Regions from separate parts of the Homo sapiens genome. Here all the other regions are linked to region 2. The links are contacts of gene promoters, found by promoter capture Hi-C in blood cells and fetal thymus (Javierre and others, 2016). All regions are on one chromosome and are shown on one strand. The core of a region is centred on a gene start or on the middle of the fragment in contact, and the rest is flanking DNA. Distances in the headings are between cores, read along the strand shown. Region 1 holds the start of WDR5B (WD repeat domain 5B). Region 2 overlaps HACD2 (3-hydroxyacyl-CoA dehydratase 2). Region 3 holds the start of KPNA1 (karyopherin subunit alpha 1).

Region 1 (2,834 bases), core at 85-2,584, 1.2 Mb before region 2:
TCCACCAGTAACTGAAAAATTGGCAAATATGCAATATTTCTCATTCTTATGACCAGTGTATGTTTTCAGGCACCTGCCTCTGCTATAATCCCATAGTTTAAGAGTGTTGTCCAAAGTTGCAGTGAGAATGTATTTACCATTTGGAGAAAATTTTACAAAAGAGACAGGAGGGTTATCGTCATCAACGAGCGTTTTTAAACACTGACCTGATGCAGCATCCCAGATTCTACAGAGGCCATCATAGCTACCTGACACTATCAAGGACCCACTACAATTAAAATGAACAGCAGAAACTGGGTCAGAATGAGCAGACAAAGTCTTGAGACACTTTCCTGTTTTCACCTCCCATATTTTTACAGTCTCATCAAAAGATCCCGAGATTATAAGGTTGGATGGCGGATTGAAGTTACAACAAAAGACATAATTACTGTGCCCCTTCAGTGTTTTCAAACATTTTCCAGATCTCACATCCCATAATTTTAGAGTTTTATCATCTGAGGCAGAAACAAGACGACTGGAATCTGATGACCAGGCAACATCCGATATTTCCAAATTATGACCATAGAGTGTTTTCTCATATTTTCCATCATATGCTCCCCAAATTATGATTAGCCTATCAGCAGAAGAACTTGCTAGCCATTCTCCATTAGGACTAAACTTAACTGATGACACTGCTTCCGTGTGTCCCACAAGAGTACATTTGAGAGCATAGTTTGGGTTTTCAGGCACTTCCTTGCTCTGATTGGCCGATGAGGAGAGGGCCAACTGTGCTTTGGCGTCTCTTGACTCCTTGGTTGCCATGGCTCTGAAGCTCCAAGTTAGCAGGTGTACTAGGCGTTCAGCCCTGAACCAGGCAGTCCAGTACTTTGGCTTTCTGCCCAGCAAAATGAAGATAAACGCACAGGATTTTAAAATGTACAGTTTTGAAAGCTTAAAGTTTCTGGACAGTCTTTAAACTGTGAGACGGAATCAGCAGCACGGCTTGGACTTCAAGTTTTCATCTTTTTGTTAAGTACTTGAGAAATACTGTTAGAAGGATCCTGTGCGCTGTCAGCAAGTAGGACACAAATGTTCGGCATTCCGTTAATACATAAAGCCTTCAAAGCAGGGGCGACGCGAGGGGCACTCTCTACAGAAAGTATTCTTTCACCGCCGCCCCCCTCCCCAGGTCGAAATGTTTCGGAATGCTGAGCAGCCCTACCAGTCAGGCTAGGTACTTGAAGATGAATGAACCGCCGCTTTTAGCGGATTTCAGAAGCTAAAAGCCTACGAAGCCACCGAAACTGGAAACTCTGGCCTGTCGGCTACTTTTGCTCGTACCAGCAGGTGTGCACTGCCGCGTCAATCTCCAACAAAGCCGGAAAAGCAGCCTGGCGCATGTGCAAAGGAAGTCCCTCCTACCACTACCGAGCCGAGATGACCAATGGGAGACGGCCATCTGCGCCTGCGCAAAAAAGTCGCCAATGTTCATTTCCGGTCTTTTTCGCCCCGCCCTTCAAATGCGAAAGCGACTGCCTTCTTGGGTGAGTGCATTAGCTGGGTAGGGTCTGTCCCGGACCTAACTGGATAGTGTGGGAAGCAGTGGATCGTTGTTTCAAAAACCATTTCTTTTTGGAAATTGTCACAGAGAAGGACTAGATTTGCGGATGCCTACCTTAGCTGCAGGCTTAGGCCCACACCTGACGCGTAAGCTGCCTAAACGGCAGCTAACGTAGATCCACCCAGACGCCGGAAACGGGGGAAGCTCCTGCTTTGCATGGGTTCCGCTCCCTCCTGTTTGTTGTGGTGTGGAGCCAGGTGGCATGTGTGGCGATGGAGTCACGGGGCGGGTGACAGAATTTATGCCAGATTGTAAAATTCCTGGTTTAAGTTTCCCCTGGAAAAGTTTCGTAAAGGTTAAGAAACGTGTCTGTTGAGGTCCTTTAAAAGCCGGTGCTCTGCTGGGAGTAACGAGCAAACGTTTGTTTTAGCATCTACGGCTTAAGCTTCCATAGAGAAGTCGGTATCTCAAAGTTGCTTGAAACAGAAAAGGACAAAGAGGTTGGTGGAATAGGGTAACGGATAAGGTTACTCTTAAGGAGGTTTTAGAGAGCTTTCCCCAGTTTTAGGAGATGATTAATGGTCATGAAAGTGTGTAAAATATACATGCTATTGAAGTTGCAACGAAAGACATAATTACTGTGCCCCTTTAGTGTTTTCAAACATTTTCCAGATCTCACATCCTATAATTTTAGAGTTTTATCATCTGAGGCAGAAACAAGACGACTGGAATCTGATGACCAGGCAGACTTTTAAACAATAGGTTTACCAAAAAACTGGAAGCCCTACTAGTTTCTCCAACCTGTTGTTGCTCAGTAAAGAGTGCCCGAGGCCGAGCACTCACGCCTGTAATCCCAGCACTTTGGGAGGCCCAGTCGGGCGGGACACTTTAGGTCGGGTGTCCGAGACCAGCCTGACCAACATGGCGCAACCAATACTGCTAAAAATACAAAAATTAGCTGCGCGTGATGGCGCACGCCTGTAGTCCCAGCTACTCAGGAGGCTGAGGTGGGAGAATGGCATGAACCAGGAGGTGGAGGGTGCAGTAAGCTGAGATTCCACCAGTGCACTCCAGCCTGGGCAACAGTGAGACTCCGTCTCAAAAAAAAAAAAAAAAAGAGTGCCCAAGAAAAGCAGAAAAAACGTGGCTTAAAAGATTTTACTGGTGGCTGGTCACGATGCAAATGTCTCATCAGCGTCAAGAATTTAAAAGCACTTGGAAACAATGGGTATCCTATTGTATACTTATTAGGGATAATTGAAAGTCTTGGCCTTTATAAGGCACAACAGGCACC
Region 2 (2,700 bases), core at 106-2,605:
AAAAAAAAAAAGAAAGTGTCTTTGCTATAATTACAGTCTTATGTTAACCAAAGATATTTAGAAACCCAAATTCTCTCAAACATAATTTTAAACTGCCATAACTGCATTAGTCCACTAATTTTTAATCTAACTATACTTGACAAATATGCAAAGATAACATCTGCCTCATCAATGAATATCATGGACTCCAAAAATGAATAAAGTAGAAAACACCCACAACTCATTACAGAGGAACTCGTTTTTTAAAAACTGACATATAATTCACATGCCACAAAATTCACAATTTTAAACTGTACAATCTAGTGGTTTTTAATATGTTCACAGAGTTGTGCACCCACCACCACTATTTCAAGAACAATATCATCACCTTAAAAGGAAATCCTGTACCATTAGCAGTCACACCCCACTCTCTCTCCCCACAGCCCCTAACAATTCCTCTACTTTCTGTCACTATGGATTTGCCTATTCTGGATATTTCTTATAAATGAAATCATACTATTTGTGACTTTTTGTATCTGCCTCCTTTCACATGCATTTTTTCAAGATTTATCCAGGCATATATCAGTAATTCATTTGCCTTTATTAATTTTATGAATGTTTATATCCATAGACCACATTTTATCCATGAGTAGCATTTTATTTATAGATACTTTTTTTTTTGGAAATGGGGTCTTGCTCTGTCACCCAGGCTGGAGTGCAGTGGCACGATCATGGCTCACTGTAGCCTTGAACTCCTGGGCACAAGTGATCCTCCCACCTCAGTCTCCTGATTAGCTGGGACTACAGGCATGTGCTACCATGCCTGGCCAATTTTTTAATTTTTTGTAGAGATGGGGTCTCGCTATGTTTCCCAGGATGGTCTTGAATTTCTGGCCTCAAGCAATCCCCCCATGTCAGCCTCCTAAAGTGCTGGGATTACAGGTGTGAGCCATGGTACTCAGCCAGGCTTCCTTTTGTACCTTGCTACTACATGCTCCTTTGTACTTGCTTGGTAAATGTTTTTATGTCTTTTAAAAAGCAAAGTGTTATTATTTTCTTAAGAAGATGTGAAATTGGAGAACAAGTAATTTCGATTTCCTTTTTAAGTAAACTCCCACAGAACCTAATAAAGAATAACATTTAGCATAAAGAGATATAAATGAGTAGCTGCCTTCCCTGGATTCATTTTCTCCTCCTGTAAACAGGATATATGTCAACACTAATAATTCCCATCAGGATAACTTATGTGTAATTAAACAATACCACACACATCTAATTATTACACAGTGTAGATGGGGTAGGCAATGAAAAACTCCTCAACCACAGAAATTGTGGTTTTAGCAAGCCTGCTCTATCGCCCAGTCCAAGGGATTACTTCCATCACTGACCTTTGCAACGTTAATTGCCTGCATGTTCCTGGGAGTCTTCACTTCCTTATGCACAGACATTTTCCCAAAATCAAATCCAGGATTTGTCACTTAATTGGTTCTTAGTGGGGATAACAGAGATAAAACCAAAAATCCAAGATATTTTCCTAAATCCCTATTAAAAATTCTATAAGGATAAACAGGCTAATCCTTCAAAGTCTAAGACTTGGTTCCTGAGTGGATTTTAAAGTATGACACTGTTTAATGTCCCTACCTTCCATAAGATATACTTAAATTTTAAAAATTATACTTCTAACATTACCAAGTTTTTTTTTTTTTGAGACAAGGTCTCACTCTGTCATCCAGGCTGGATTGCAGTGATGCAATCATAGTTCGCTGCAGCCTCAAACTCCTGGGTTCAAGCTCAAGCCTCCCATTTCAGCCTCCCAAGTAGCTGGGACTACAGGTACCCACCACCCAGCCCAGCTAAAAAAAAAAAAATTTTTTTTTTGTAGAGATGAGGTCTTGCTATGTTGCTCAAGCTGGTCTCGAACTCTTGCCCTCAAGTGATCCTCCTGCCTTGGCCTCCCAAAGCTCTGGGATTGCTGGGACTATAAGCATGAGCCACTGTGCTCAGCTCTAATATTATGATGTCTTAAAGAGATAGAAACCCCTTTAAATTATTGAAGTATTCCAAATGGGGACAACCCCCTACTATATCAAGTACTGGAAGTCTGATGGTCTTGACTCCAAATTTGCTTCTCTGTAGCTTGTGGGAACTGTACTGGCCAAGGTTCTGAAAGAGAAAGTACTACTTATTTACTAGTGTCCGCTTCCAAAAAAAGTTCAAGCCTCTAAGTTTAAAAAATGGTTCACATTAGGATTTGTTAAAATTTCCTCACACTCAAATTTAGGGTAGTAAGGGACTTTAGAAATCTACTTTAACCTAATTATTTACAAATGAAAAGGAGGTGGATACGAGAGAAAAGACTTGCCCAAATCTATAGAGTCAGTTGGGAAAACTATTATACTTAAAATAAAAAGGTACTCAGGCTTCCAGCTGGAAGCTCATTTCATCATACCACCTACTTAAAATGCCTAAGTTTGGACACTATTGAAATTCCTCTGTGTTGCAGTGAGCCGAGATCCCACCACTGCACTCCTGCCTGGGCAACAGAGTAAGGCCCTGTGTCAAAAAAAAAAAAGAAAAAAGAAAGAAAGAAAAAAAGAAATTCCTCTGCCTTCTAAGAGAAAAAAACAAAAGCAAAATGGATAACTTTCTGATCTAGAACGTGAGAGTGAATCCAGCCTGGGAAACACAGCCAAACCTCACCTCTACCAAAAATATAAAAAT
Region 3 (2,889 bases), core at 367-2,866, 1.1 Mb before region 2:
TCCTTTACTTTCTCTTACGTCTCATCTATCCATAAAACAGTGTCTTCCAAGAATATTTCAGTAAAAATACAACAGAACTCATTCTTACTTTCCTTTGAAAAATTAAATTTTCATCTCTTTGATCTTTAAAAAGGAGGGAAAAATAACTTGTGTACTGCTTTCAAAATATTACAAATGCAAAAGCTAGTTAAGACAAAAACAATGTCGAGAATGAGCCTTGCTGGTGGCATCCGCCTGTAGTTCCAGCTAGTAGGGAGGATGCCTTGAGGCCAGGAGTTCCAGATCAGCCCGGGAAACAAAGCAAGACTCCATCTCTTAAGAAAAAAAAAAACAAAACAGGAGGGGGGAAATCACTTCATCTACTAATAGAGATTTTTAAGCAACCGTTTATTTAAGAAAAAAGGGTGAAATTCAAGTTAATATTACTTGACAGTACGTTTCAGAAAAAAAAATACTCTGCAGAGCTGGGTGTGGTTGCCCAAGACTAGTCCCAGCTACTTGGGAAGCTGAGGCAAGAGGACAGTTTGAGCTCAGGAGTTGGAGTACAGCCTGGGCAATATAGCGAGACCCCATCTCTTTAAAATACAAACAAAAACTCGGCAATCGTTTGTTCTGAGTTGAAACCTTAAAAATCAAATATTTTGAACGCTTTCATTTAAAAGTGGAACACGACCCAATCCTAAAACATTACTTCATGACGACTTCCTTGACTCCAGTCATCCTTGTTTCCTCCTCCCGTTTTGAGCTTAATCCGATACCTCGCTGCTTCCCTCGCATCGCACACGCGGCGTGCAGACCAAGTTCTGTCATTGCTATAATTACCACACCCCCGATCAGCCGCTCCAGGCCCATGTTGTTATGACATCGGTAAACTGCAGCCGGCCGTCTCCACCCCCCGCTTCCCCCACCTCCCTCCGGGCCGCCGGCTCCGACCCGGTCTGTAACTTGTGAATTCCCAAGACGGTCCCTTTTTGCCAGGGTTAGAATTTTTACACGCCACCCCTGCTCCTTCCTGCCTCTGTCACAGCGCTCTGCGCGGCCCACCCCCGCCTCCCGCCCGCCGCCCGGCCGCGGCGCAGGCTCCGCGCTCGCCTCCTCTCCGCCCGCTGCCTCGGCGCCCCGCAGTCCCCGGCGCCGCTTACAGCCCCGCCGCCGCGCCACGCCGCCCCGCCCCGCCTAGCCTCGACCGGCGTTCCCGATGGCGATCACACCAGGGCTCCCCACCCCCACCCTCTCCTCCGCCGGCCTTGTGGCCGTTAGGACAGCCGGGCCCGTGACGCACGGACGCGGCGCGAGCGTCCGGCCCAGGAACCCCGGCTCTAGGCCCTGCCGGCACCCGCCCTCGCCCCAGGGCCTCTCCTGAGTCCCTCCGGGACTGCCCGGATCTGCCGGCGGGAGGGGGAGGGGCCGGGGCCGCAAGGCCCCAGCACTCACCAGGCTCAAGGCAACCGATCCCGGTGCCACCGCTGAAGTTAGCCCCTCGCTCGCCCGCCCGCCGTGCCACTCCCGCGCACAACCTCGAAGAGCTGGCCCGCGCCTCGGCGGTGCTCACCAGGCCTCGCTCTCCGCCGCCTCGCACCGAGCAGCGAGACTCAGCTCAGCCGGCGTTCGCAGTGCGCCTGCGTGCGGGGGCCGGCCCGAGCGCCTACGCGCGCCCCTCCGGCGCTTGTCGCAGAGGCTGCCGGGAGACGTAGTCTTGTAACGCTCTCTCGCCGGACATTCCTAATGGTTAGCGCCCAGCCTGTGAAGAGTCGGGGGTCGGGGAGGGGGTCTCGCTAAGAAGGAGGTTTGCAGACCATGGCAAAGGTTGGAGAAAGTTATATGTACAAACCTGTCTTTGCTAAGCTCTTCCAGGGCGGATCGATGCTCACCTCTGTATAGCTTCTAAGTACCTAATACGCGTTGATGGAATGAATGATGGAATGATTGAAGGCTGAGGGAGTATTACAAAATTAGTAGGTCAGCGCCTCGTGTCTAAAGGGCTCACATGCAGCATGAATGCAGGAAGCTTCTGGACATTCCTTTTTTAGTTATCTCCCATCCCCTTTGCTTGATAACGTATGCGTAGTATCAAAAATAATTAAGGGCCGGGCGCGGTGGCTCACACCTGTAATCCCAGCACCTTGGGAGGCCGAGGTGGGTGGATCACTTGAGGCTAGGAGTTTTGAGACTAGCCTGGGCAACATGGCGAAACCCCGTCTCTACTAAAAACACAAAAATTAGCAGGGGGTGGTGACGGGCGCCTGAAGTCCCAGCTACTCGGGAGGCTGAGGTGGGAGAATCACCTGAGCCCGGGGTTGACGGTGAGACTGCAGTGAGCCGAGATCGCGCCACTACACTCCAGCCTGGGCAACCGGAGTGAGACCCTGCCTCAAAAATAATAATAACAATAATAATAATAATAATAATGAAACTACATGAAACACATACTCGTTTTACTCTCAACTGCTCTCAAACGAAAACTTGGAGCAAATGATTGCTAATGTTAAATTTCATGGAATTCTTTGGGGGAGCAAATGGAGTAGTGGCTTCAAAAGAAGAAAAACTGAAGCCAGCCTAGCAGGGATCACGGAATAGTAGACAGATTTAAAACACATGCCAAGAAGCAAGGTGAAAGAGATGAGGTAGATTAATACATTTATAAATGTCCCAGGGAAGAGGAGAGGAGAGAGGACCACTCTACCTGAATCCTAGGTTATGCAATGTTCATTTGTCCTGGACTTCTCTCTGCTGCATCAGCATTCTCCCGCTGATGTTGTGTTTACTAAGATCAGAGTTGAGTTTGAGCAAGGGGGCTGGGGAAAGGGAAGGTGTGTTCAACAGGAGAGACTTAAGGGCAAGTTTGCCTGACCACAGCTAGACTGAAGACAGATCACCTTATTCCAATAA

Evidence for each region. The method cuts DNA at HindIII sites, captures the fragments that hold promoters and counts their contacts. A CHiCAGO score of 5 or more calls a contact.
Region 1: the fragment with the promoter of WDR5B here is called in contact with a fragment that was not itself captured in region 2 in 3 of 17 cell types (non-activated CD4 T cells, total CD8 T cells and naive CD4 T cells); the score reaches 6.9 in non-activated CD4 T cells.
Region 3: a contact is called between the fragment with the promoter of KPNA1 here and a fragment that was not itself captured in region 2, in 1 of 17 cell types (naive CD8 T cells). The highest score is 5.4, in naive CD8 T cells.

Annotation. Positions count from the first base shown.
Region 1 is chr3:122,414,728-122,417,561 of GRCh38, forward strand. It overlaps WDR5B (WD repeat domain 5B), which reads right to left and starts at 1,335. Exons shown (of 1, transcript NM_019069.4): 1 at 1-1,335. The coding sequence starts at 801. It overlaps WDR5B-DT (WDR5B divergent transcript), which reads left to right and starts at 1,479. Exons shown (of 3, transcript NR_125405.1): 1 at 1,479-1,523. RefSeq lists enhancers at 880-1,079, 1,315-2,132, 1,350-1,589, 1,620-1,669, 1,830-2,029 and 1 more. The HindIII fragment of the contact is 1,055 bases long and covers 929-1,983 here.
Region 2 is chr3:123,577,628-123,580,327 of GRCh38, forward strand. The region is part of intron 2 of HACD2 (3-hydroxyacyl-CoA dehydratase 2); the gene reads right to left. Among named protein-coding and RNA genes, the nearest start is that of HACD2, 6.1 kb to the right of the region's middle. The HindIII fragment of the contact is 5,964 bases long and covers 1-2,700 here.
Region 3 is chr3:122,513,323-122,516,211 of GRCh38, forward strand. It overlaps KPNA1 (karyopherin subunit alpha 1), which reads right to left and starts at 1,617. Exons shown (of 14, transcript NM_002264.4): 1 at 1,435-1,617. LOC107984000 (a long non-coding RNA gene) reads left to right here and starts at 1,707. Exons shown (of 2, transcript XR_924403.3): 1 at 1,707-1,806. RefSeq lists a silencer at 895-1,584. The HindIII fragment of the contact is 3,104 bases long and covers 1-2,006 here.